Linked DNA regions of Homo sapiens: all the other regions are linked to region 4. The links are contacts of gene promoters, found by promoter capture Hi-C in blood cells and fetal thymus (Javierre and others, 2016). All regions are on one chromosome and are shown on one strand. Each heading gives the region's core, a stretch centred on a gene start or on the middle of the fragment in contact. The rest is flanking DNA. Distances are from core to core; before and after follow the strand shown.

What was found. Contacts are between HindIII fragments. The CHiCAGO score rates a contact against its expected background, and 5 or more counts as called.
Region 1: a fragment that was not itself captured here is called in contact with the fragment with the promoter of TSPAN5 in region 4 in 2 of 17 cell types (erythroblasts and activated CD4 T cells); the score reaches 5.8 in erythroblasts.
Region 2: a fragment that was not itself captured here is called in contact with the fragment with the promoter of TSPAN5 in region 4 in 2 of 17 cell types (endothelial precursors and activated CD4 T cells); the score reaches 9.6 in endothelial precursors.
Region 3: a fragment that was not itself captured here is called in contact with the fragment with the promoter of TSPAN5 in region 4 in 1 of 17 cell types (activated CD4 T cells); the score reaches 5.4 in activated CD4 T cells.

What each region holds. Positions count from the first base shown.
Region 1 is chr4:98,899,041-98,901,779 of GRCh38, forward strand. The region is part of intron 2 of EIF4E (eukaryotic translation initiation factor 4E); the gene reads right to left. Among named protein-coding and RNA genes, the nearest start is that of EIF4E, 29 kb to the right of the region's middle. The HindIII fragment of the contact is 2,911 bases long and covers 1-2,739 here.
Region 2 is chr4:98,521,395-98,524,094 of GRCh38, forward strand. The region is part of intron 1 of TSPAN5 (tetraspanin 5); the gene reads right to left. Among named protein-coding and RNA genes, the nearest start is that of TSPAN5, 140 kb to the right of the region's middle. The HindIII fragment of the contact is 1,131 bases long and covers 853-1,983 here.
Region 3 is chr4:98,831,715-98,834,435 of GRCh38, forward strand. All of the region lies in intron 2 of LOC105377343 (a long non-coding RNA gene), which reads right to left. Among named protein-coding and RNA genes, the nearest start is that of EIF4E, 96 kb to the right of the region's middle. The HindIII fragment of the contact is 2,140 bases long and covers 265-2,404 here.
Region 4 is chr4:98,657,311-98,660,010 of GRCh38, forward strand. It overlaps TSPAN5 (tetraspanin 5), which reads right to left and starts at 1,301. Exons shown (of 8, transcript NM_005723.4): 1 at 836-1,301. The coding sequence starts at 916. It overlaps TSPAN5-DT (TSPAN5 divergent transcript), which reads left to right and starts at 1,592. Exons shown (of 3, transcript NR_148380.1): 1 at 1,592-1,712. It overlaps LOC112267901 (a long non-coding RNA gene), which reads left to right and starts at 1,413. Exons shown (of 3, transcript XR_939016.3): 1 at 1,413-1,562. RefSeq lists silencers at 866-1,025, 1,279-1,458. The HindIII fragment of the contact is 4,978 bases long and covers 1-1,941 here.

The DNA.
Region 1 (2,739 bases), core at 123-2,622, 240 kb after region 4:
AATTAAAGACCTCTAAAAAAAAAAAAACCATACAATTCCACAGACAATGTTAGAAGACAAATGATATGGATAACCTGTTTCTTTCTGACTTAATACTCCTCCAACTTCCCTGCCTTGGGTGAGTTAGCACTCTAATATAAAATGCTTGGAAATAAACTTGAAAAGATATTCCATAACTTGTTAGCTTGAAAGTAGGGGAAAAAAAAGATAATCCAAAAGAAAAAAAATAGAAGAACTGAATAATCTGTCCTCAGATAAAAACCACAAATCATCAATATGAAAATATTTTGAAACTTCAATTTTAAAATGCAAATTGAAAATACTGAAATTGTTTTCCCAAATCAGACTGGGACCAATCTGATTGGCAACAACTTAAAAGACTAATCACATGAGTTAGCAAGGATATAGAAACCAGGAACTCTCAAACTGTTAAGTCTAAGCCAATAAAACAGAATAATGTGGCAGTATCTGCGCAAAGGTTGTTAAAGGGTAATCTTTGTTCTAGGAGATCTGAAATTTTACCCTATATATTCACACAAGTGCACAATTATGTAAGGATGTAAATTACAGCACTGTGTGTAAAAAGAAAAATCTATACAGCCATTAATGTAAACCTAATAAAATATATGGTGGTATATCAATATAATGCAAGACGGTGGTTTAAAACAATGAGGTAAAATATGCACATACAAACAGAAAAGTCAACTGTATAGACGTATGTATTAAAAAGTATACATATGTGCATTTAATACTTCTGGAATACAAACCAAATTTAACATTGACTACTCTGGGGAGTGAAGAAAGTAAAATGCAAGAAGTAAATAATGAGAAAACTGCCAAAATTGGAGCCATAAAACATAGTATTTTTCCAAATGATACTTGCTATTTTACACAAAAAGTAGAATTTATAGAGAAACTGAAGTCCCCAGAGACTTCATTTTAAGATTTAAACTTTTTTTTTTTTTTTAAACTGATGAGGACACTTAAGAATCCCTTCTTAGACTCCATTCAAGCTGTGAGGGATATATGCCTTGTTTACTTCTCCCCACAATAAAAGTGACACCAAGAACTAGGTTCACAGACAGCTAGAAGATATACAGTTTGTTTCATATCACTGAAAAAAATGAAAAAAAAATGTGGGTTTTGGTGCTACTATTAGGTTAAACTATATAAGACTGCCTCTAACGAATTGTTCAACCTAATACATGTGGTACATTGCTTCCCTGAGGAAGGATTTTATCCTTTATAGACTGTTTGACCTCTGATGTCCCACTAGCTGAGAATCTCCATTGTCTAAAAAACTGATTTGTTCCTCACTGGAGGATATACTGAACCAAAGGGTCTCCTATGAGAAAACTGCATACAGCATATTTGAACTATTTATTTCAGTAGGTCTTCCATGATGAATAAAGGAAACATTTAAAAAAATTGAGATCATAAAAAAATTTTAATAAATGAAACAATTATAAATAGACTTGTGGACTCTTTTAAGTAGAGAGTGAATGGTCTGCCCTAAAAAAAGTAAATAAAAACAAAAAAAGACAAGAAATGAACTGAAATACTTCAAGAACCTCAGAAGTTAATTCCAATTTACTTTCCTCTAGATTGTTACAATGTTTCTGAACTGCCATTTTCTTCCCACCATCAGCATTCAGTGAACTCAAGTTAATTCTCATATACCCCAGAAAATAAATAAAAACAAACCTACTGGAAAGGAGTGGGAAGAGTTGGGAAAAGCCATATAATGAACTAATACTCAATTTCCTGTTACACTATTAACTATGAAAACTTAACTAATTTTAATCTGTCCCCTTTTCTAGTCTCTCACTTACAAACCAACCAACCTTCAAACTCCACATTCCCTGGCTCTCGTTTCTCATTCTCAGTCCAACTTCAAGTCACCTGTTCTTACTCTATACATCTGTATATCTCCTATTCACTCTTCAAACTGCCCTAATCTCTTTTTCCATGTTTTATGGAACTACTCTATGGAACCTTACTAAAAAACTTTTTCCCAAGTCAGCACGGACTTTTTTAAAAGTGTTCAATCCAATGGATATTTTGACATCTTGCTTCATTTGACCTTTTTAGCACATGTGCTGTAAACCACCCTATCTTAGAATAAACCACCTTCTTGGTTTCCATGACCACCACTGTCTCTTTTTTTTTTTTTTGAGATGGAGTTTCGCTCTTGTTGCCCAGGCTGGCAGGCAATGGCGCGATCTCAGTTCACTGCAACCTGCACCTCCTGGGTTCAAGCAATTATCTCACCTCAGCCTCCCGAGCAGCTGGGATTACAGGCGTCTGCCACCATACCCAGCTAATTTTTGTATTTTTTAGTAGAGACGGGGTTTCACCATGTTGGCCAGGTTGGTCTCAAACTCCTGACCTCAGGTGATCCGCCCGCCTCCGCCTCCGCCTCCGCCTCCTGAAGTGCTGGGTTTACAGGCGTGAGCCACCGCGTTGGGCGACCACCACTGTCTTTGTATGTCCATCCTTCATAGGCATTCTTCTTCAACAAAAGCCTCCTATATGATGCTAGTATCCCCGGTCTTTGTCCTGAGTCAAGTTCACTTCTCCTTAAGGGAACTTATTTACTAATGTGGCTTCCATTATGACCAATACTTTTCAAACTAATCTCTCACATAGCTCCTTTTGAACTCAAGACTCACACATAAAACTGTCTGCTGGTCATGGGTCATCCAAGTGAAAATAGAACCCTCAACCTTAGCATATCTA
Region 2 (2,700 bases), core at 168-2,667, 140 kb before region 4:
ATACAACTCACTATGTATCACCTGGCCCTCTCTGCACCACCCTGTAAGAATTAGGGCTCAGGGAAAGTGTACAAAAATATTGATCCTCTGGTTCCTGGCATTGCTGTGATTAATAAAGTCCTATGTGTCTGCCCCAGCAGTGTGATGCCTTCTGCCAGGATTTGTGACACTGTGGCAGGATAACTTGTTTGCTGGCATGCAGGGTGAAATCTCAGACCCTTCACAGTCCTTGACACTCAGTGTTATTGTTCCACAGAAGAGTTTGGTGTCTTAGATTGTTCTCCAGCCCCCTGGCTTGCTTCAGCTTGCCCTGTGGGATGTCAGCACCATCAGAGCTGAGGAGGCTGCTGAGATATTAATAGCTATTTTTAAAACACTTATCACAAATGCTCTCTCTATGCCTATATATCTGTGTGTGTTTTTGAATTTTATTTTGTTTTTGTGGGTTCTGTTTTTTTTGTTTGTTTCACTGATGAAATCTTTCTTTTCTAAGAAACACAGGACATTTATACATTTAAAGAGAGGAAAAGTGACTGTTATTAAACAGATGTCTGTGCTACAGTCAATATATCATTCTTTCATTTTAAAGTGTTCTAATTTAACTGTAAATATTAAAAGTTCCTAAGAAATAACTCCATGTTTCAGGTACATTTTAGTAAACATCTTGCCTTTGAAATAATTGAAATGCCAGGAGAATGTAACTTCAAAGCTTCAGACATTGTACAGAATGAGCTGAATGGTGTTTCCTACACTTACACGCTCCCGTGGCCTATGTGCCCAACCCCCACATTAGGCAAATCCACTACAGAAAACTATACTCAGAGTACACTGACTTCTTGTTAGAATTCAGAAAGCTTCTTTAAAATGAAACCTGATTGATAACATTAGCAACAAAGTCATCCAAGAAGTCATCTCTGAGAACCTCAAGTCCACGCTGAAACAGGAAGTGAATTTTCTCCTGGTGGGCCTTTTGAAATAAACGCTCCATCTTAAAAATGCCAGGACCCTTCTTAATAGCTATCATAGAAGTTATACCTCCGATCAAATCAACCATTTACAAAAAGAATGATGACAGGTGCCTTCACTTCAAGCTCTGTTTTCATATTTCCATACCCATGTTTAAAATCCCCTTAATAGTTGCACTGAACTGACGTCATCTTTCTGATGCTTTATAAATTCAATCAAAACCTAAAACATCTTGAGAGATGAATGCAGGATGCATGGGGCATAATCAGGAGATCCCAATCCATTGATTATCATGTGAAAGAAGGCACAGAGGCAATTAGTCCTTTGTTGTGGATGACAAATAACCTCCACATAAAATGTTCTATACACTGAGGCATCTTTGATCCATCTTACTGGCTCAGTGACTCACAAAGGAGGAAGGAGGGGGGATGTCTGAAAACAAAAGGGCAGCCTGACGACACCATTTAGTTATTTATTCTGTATGTTCAGCTCAGTTTTTCCTCTTTCCAACTTTTCATGATACTATAAAAAGAAATGGAATGGATTCCTTTCAACCAAGAACATCAGCACTGCATACTAAGAAGTAAAGTACTGGCTTAACACAGAGCCCACAGAAGCCACCGAATATCATCCTCTCTCCTTAGTTAGGTATTTTTTACAAGGAAAATGGGTTTTGACAAATCATTCTTTTATATGTTCTTTTATATAAGACTTTAATGCACAGACTCTTGGAAATTAATTTACATATAAGACAAACTATTCACAGCTTCAGGAGAGAAGGCTGGGTTCTCAACAAGCACTGCCTTGGAAACTATCCATGTGTGTGCACTCTGGAATTTTCCTTTTCTGTTAGAATTGTTTGGAAGAGTCTCCTGATGAACAACAGCATGAGGGATGTGAATAAGCGTCCCTTATTTCCTCTGGTTTAAAGACATCCATAACTTTTTGTTCTCTGAATAAAAGTGGCATGACATTAAAGTGAGTTGAAGATATAAAAGCATGTGCTAGAGATCAGCAAGCTTCTAAAATGATTTACTAATTCAGATGAATATTAAAAAATCAACATGGAAATAAAAATTATGGTTTTTTTTTGAGACAGAGTCTCCGTCTGTTGCCCAGGCTGGAGTGCAGAGGCGCGTGCTCGGCTCACTGCAACCTCTGCCTCCCGGGTTCAAGTGATTCTTTTGCCTCAGCCTCTTGAATAGCTGGGATTACAGGTGTGCACCACCACACCTGGCTAATTTTTGTATTTTTTAGTAGAGACAAGGTTTCGCCATGTTGGCCAGGCTGGTCAACATGAACTCTTGGCCTCAAGTGATCCACCTGCCTCGGCCTCCCAAAGTGCTGGGATTACAGGCATAAGCCACCGTGCCCAGCTTTTATCTTTAAAAATTAAGAGGACTGCTAATTTCCTGAAGTTAAAACAGAAAGTATAAAGGGACCATACAAATTATAAATAGTGACACAGCCAAATGAGCCTGACCTCTGATGACAAACCTTGGTTCAAATCTGGGCCCCAGCATTTAATGGATGTGGCCTGGGCAAGCTGACACTCTCAATTTTCTCTCCCATAAATACAGACTATTGCCTAGCATTCACATAGCATTGATATGAGGATCAATGAGTTAAGGTATGTGTTTTATGTATAGTAGGCACTCAATAAACACACTATTATTGCCATTAAAAGTGTAATTAAAAAGTCTCTTACCTAAGCACAATATAAGGTCACTTTTC
Region 3 (2,721 bases), core at 85-2,584, 170 kb after region 4:
AAAACAAAGAATGGCAATGGGAATTCAAAATATTACTTTTATTATTGATAAAGCTCATGTCAGAGAACACAACTCAGGTATGCGCCAACAGTAGATTCCCCAGTACTAAACCCAAGAACTAGGCAGTCTCATTCACTTGGGCTGGGCCCCCACAACCCTCCCCATGTGAGGGCCACTCTTGTCCATGCTTAAACATGATTGGAGAGCAAAAAGTCTGTTTGCTGGAGTCACCTTGCTCCAAAAAGGAAGGGCACGAAATAACTAAGCTTCGTGCACCAATTTTTCTGCCACCCTCATCAATCATATAACTCATTATTTTCTGAGGAGAGGAGAAAGGGATGGGGGCCGAGGCCAGGAGAGTTAGGGAAAAAACACTTTTCAGGTAAACCTTGTGGATGAACAAAAGAAGTCCTTCCCCAGCCCCTTCCCCAAGAGAATAGACAAGAAACTGGAAACTCTGAAGGCCTCTGGCAACAGGCACTAGATGACTGGGGGCGTGGACAGAAGGAGGCCATTTACTGGGTTGCCTTTTCCATTTTTGAAATTTTGAACCAGAGGACTCTATTTATATTGAAATATAAATAAAAATATTTCCAAATGATTATGTGCAGATAATTAAGAGCTGTAAGGAAAGAATAAAGGAAAAATATTGAATTCATGTATCATTTGCTTCATGATGAAATGAATGGAATTTTACCTAACTTGATATAATTGGAAAATGTTTCCAAAACACAGGTAACCTACCCAGAAAGTATAGTTGATCCAGCCATGTTTTTGCTCCTTCTGCATGAAATGTATTGTCTGCCCATCAAGAGACCACAGATGGGGGAGCCAGGTGCAATGGCTCATACCTGTAATCCCAACACTTTGGGAAGCCAAGGTGGGAGGATCACTTGAAGACAGGAGTTAGAAACCAGCGTGGACAACATAGGAGATCTTGTCTCCACAAAATATTTTAAAATCAGCTGGGCATGGTGGCACGCACCTGTAGTCCCAACTACTCAGGAGGCTGAGGCAGGAAGATTGCTTGGGCTGAGGAGTTTGAGGCTGCAATGAGGTATGATTACGCCACTGCACTCTAGCCTGGGTGACAAAGTGAGACTCTGTTTCAAAACAAAAAGAAAGAGAGCATAAATGAGGTTGAAGAAAGTAGCTACAGGCTGGATCTGTGAAAAACCCAGAATCTAGAAGAGAAGGCAATATGATCAGTAAAATGCCTTCTCAGCACGGGGGACTCATAACATGTGGGCAAGGGTGCTCTGGGTTGAGAGCTCATGTTGACCAACATTGATAATGTTAAAGAATGTCTTCTCCATACTCTGAGAGTCGCTTCTCCTTCAGGGCTGGAGTTGGTCATATAGGTGTGTTTGCTCACGCAGAAGGGGCAAAATGAACTTGTGTGGGTCCCCATTTTGTGCCTCTTCAGACTGACTTCTTCTTTGCCTCTTGGACATTGACAAATGGAGAAACTGAGATATAGCTCAGTAGCTCTCACCTTGACTCTGCTATTGAAGACCAGAGAAATCTAGACTTTTATGACTACTCCCAGATTTTACATATATATATATACATATATATATACACACACACACACAAATAATCTATTATATATATATATATACACACAAACAAATAATCTAGGAGTAGTCATAAAACCCGTGTGTGTGTGTGTGTGTGTGTGTGTGTGTGTGTGTGTGTGTGTATAGGTTTGTTTATTTTTTGCTAATTTTCATACCCTTTTTTATTCATGTTCCCATACTTCTGATAGACTCTGAAGTGTCAAACCAGGCATATTTTTAAAACAGGTACTATAAATAGGTCATGAGAGGCAGCCAAGGAAAATGTCACCAACTCACAGTGGCACTGAAAGAAACATTTCAAAGAATAATTGACTCAAAGTGCTTCCTTGCTGAGCATGCAAAGGCTGAGGCAATGGTGAAAGAATGTAATGTGCCAAATTCAAAAAGGGCATTTAGGACAACCATTCTACCTTGTTCTATCCCTCGTCCCCTGACTTCCTCCCATGGAGAAATCAGCTTCTCCCTGACTGGCTCTGCTGGATTTAAAAAAGTGTTGTGTAATTTTTATTCTGAGTTTTCCAATTAAGGTAATGGATTCAGGAGAATAGATTGTGTAACAATGAAGGAAAAATGAGAAAGAAAAGGGTGTTAAGAGAAAGAAACAACATAAAAGAAATAGCAAGCAATATTGAAAACAGAACCAACCAATCAACAAACATAACCCAACTTTTCTCCCAAACACTGCAGCTTAGAGGTGGCCTCAGGAGATCTATTGCCTAGGGCGGGACATTTGTCTCCCAGGACCTCGGCCTTCCAGGCAAGGAGGCTCTTCACACCTGATTGAAACAGTGGCTGGTCCCTGGACCAGAGGAGTTGTGTGGTGAAGCTTTCCCTAATCTACGTGAAACTGATGAAAAAGGGAGCAATGTAGCTGACCTTTTATGAAGCTAACATTCAAATAACTCTCCAGAGTCTCATTCTGTTGCCCAGGCTGGAGTGCCGTGGGGAGATCTTGACTCACTGCAACCTCCGCCTCCTGTGCTCAAGCGATTCTCCTGCCTCAGCCTCCCAAATAACTGGGATTATAGGAGCAGCTAATTTTTGAATTTTACCACCCCTCCCAGCTAAGTTTTGAATTTTTAGTAGAGACAGGGTTTCGTCATGTTGGCCAGGCAGGTTTCAAACTCCTGACCTAAAGTGA
Region 4 (2,700 bases), core at 51-2,550:
CATTTGCTCTCTCGGTTCCCCAATAAAACATGCCTCGCACACCTTCTCCTTTGCATTTCTACAAAGGTTCCCCCAAACGGCCCGCTCTGTGTCACTCCTTTAAAAATGAGGACGTGGGGCAGGAACACACTGAAATATATGTTGACGGTGACTTATTATCCTGACGATGATATATACATACAAATAAATCCCTCTACCCCGCACCCCCACTGACCAGTCCATTACGCACAGGGAGCGCTTTCCAGCTGAAGAGGAGAGCGTGCAGGAAACGTTATTTACGTGCAATTACAGGACCATATACCACGGCATCTGCATCCTACACAAAGCCCGAGATGGTGCAAGAAGATACACGCTGAGCATGGCACAGACCAGCCGCGGCAACACGGAGCCAAGCCCTCGTCCAATCAGATCGTTGTTAGAAGGTGGACCTCAGGGTCGGCCGTGCCCGATTAGCCTTCCCTATTATGACACCACGCTCTGCCCAACATCTATATCCCACCGAGAGCAAATCCAATTCGTGTGGTTGCTCATTTCTCAAACTGCCGAACCCTTTCTTTTATCTGCATCCCTGCTATTCGTTCCTCAAAAAGCCACCAGAAGGCCTCGGTGCCCCCTTTCCGCCTCGATTTCTCTTTTCACCTCTTCCCATTCCTCGAAAGGATTAAATGTTTATCTCTCCAACGCGCAAGCTGGAAAGGCGGAAGGCGAATGCCTCTATGCTGCTCCGGCAAGCGCCTGCGGGGCTGCGAAAAGTAAAGGCAACGAACAACGTGGGGGAAATCGTCGCGAATCGATCGGCCACAATAGTTGGAATCCCAGGAGCGCTCCAACTTACCCAAAATATGACATTGAAGCCAAATATGAAGTATTTGATGCAACAACTGACTTCAGGACCCTTGTAGTGCTTCCCGGACATCCTCTGGGTTCATGAAGACACTTGCCCCGGCAGCCCGAGTTTGGAGCTCCGAAGCACCGTTGCTCGGAGCAGCCCGGCGGGGAGCAGGAGCTCAGGGACACCGCACGGGGCCGCGGCGCTGGCGGCCTGGGCTCAGCCGCGCGGGGACCGACCGGCGGAGAGCGGCTCCCGCACCTCCAGCCCCTCGCGCGCCGAGGCCGCCGGAGCCGGGGTGGCCGCGAGAAAGCAGGGAAGCCGCGCGCTGCAAGCTCAAGCCTCGCCGACGCTAGCCCCGAACACAAAGCGAGCGCCCGCGTCCGTGCGCCAGGCGGTCGGTCCGTCGGTTCGTCCCCGGGCTTCGGGCAAAGGCGGCCGCGGCAGATGCTGGTGGAGACGCCGCTCGCTTGCTCGCCCGCCCGTTCGCGCGCGCCCTCCCACCCCTCGCTCCGCCCGCCTCTCGCTCCGCCCGCCCGGCCGGCTGCTCCTCCGCCCGCGCCGCCCGCAGCTCCGCCCGCCGCCCAAGCCTTGGCTAGGCGCGCGCGCGCACGGGGTCGGGCGCTCCCGGGCGGCGGTGGCACCACGTAGCCGCCTCCTTCCACCGCTCGCTTTATCCCCGCCCCTTCTCGGGCCAACCCCAAGCGCCGCTGACCCCGAACGTCGCTGCGGGGTAGGTAGGGGGTGGGAGGGTGGAGGACCGCAGGCGAGAGGGAGAAGGAAGGGCGCCCGGGGAGCAGGCTGGCAGAGTGACCGGGATTGATGAGCGGCGCAGCTCTGGAGGGACGCGGGCGAGAGGGTCGCTCCTCGGGGAGAGGGCTGGGTGAGTGAGGACCTGCGAGCCACCCCCGACACCCCTTCCAGGGTAGCCACACTGGCGCCCCCTCCTCCACAACAGGCTTATGTGGCTAGAGAAGATGCGATGCCACTGGACAGGGAAGGAAAGTCGTCGTGGACTTCGCTGAATGGAAAAGGGGGTAGTTGGGGAAGGTGGAGAAAAGAGCCACGGGAAGTGGGAGGAAAGGATGAAGGGATGGGACGTTGAAAAGGAAAGCTTCCTGAATCCCTGTGTGACTCTAACCCAACCTCCCCACCTACCGGAGAAATGGGTTTTATCCTAGAAATGGGGACGAGGAAAAAGAGATGGCTCAAGGGAGTCCTGGCCCGGGATGCGATCCTCGCCCTAGGGTCTATTGCAACCACACAAACCCGGACAGCGCACGCTCCCCCCTACCCCGACAGAATAGTGCCTAAGAAACCTGCTTGCCTCCTAACTCTAGGAAGGAATCCACAACGGATTCCAGGGAGGTCTTCTGGGGAATCTGAATTGGGTTTTTGGATCACGAACCATTAAGCTTTTGAACTCTGGGGAAGAATAGAACAGGTGGCTGGAAATTGTTTTAGAACCCTACCTGAGCAGGTGTGCTCATTAGTTGCTTATCCGCCCTCCTCCTGGAGCACTTTCATAGGTGTTGGCAAAGCAGGTACCAGTATTTCACGGAAGGAGAAGGAAGAACCGCCCAGGACTGTGTATAAATGTCTATGGGAATATTTTTAAGGATTCAAAAGGCTAGAAGGAGGTGAGATCAAAAAATTTTTCCAGCACCACCCAGTGCAACCCGATCCTGGACACAGAAATCTAAAAGATGATACTTAAATACTTGAGTTTGAGAGCCTCTAGTTATAAGGTTTCCTACGTAACAACCTCTCACTTTTCTCAAAAACTGGCTAGTTGACAACCGGCAGTCAAGTTTTGGCTAGTCAAGAAGCTACTTTTTCCTGCAATAAACCACATTTAGAGATAGTACTGG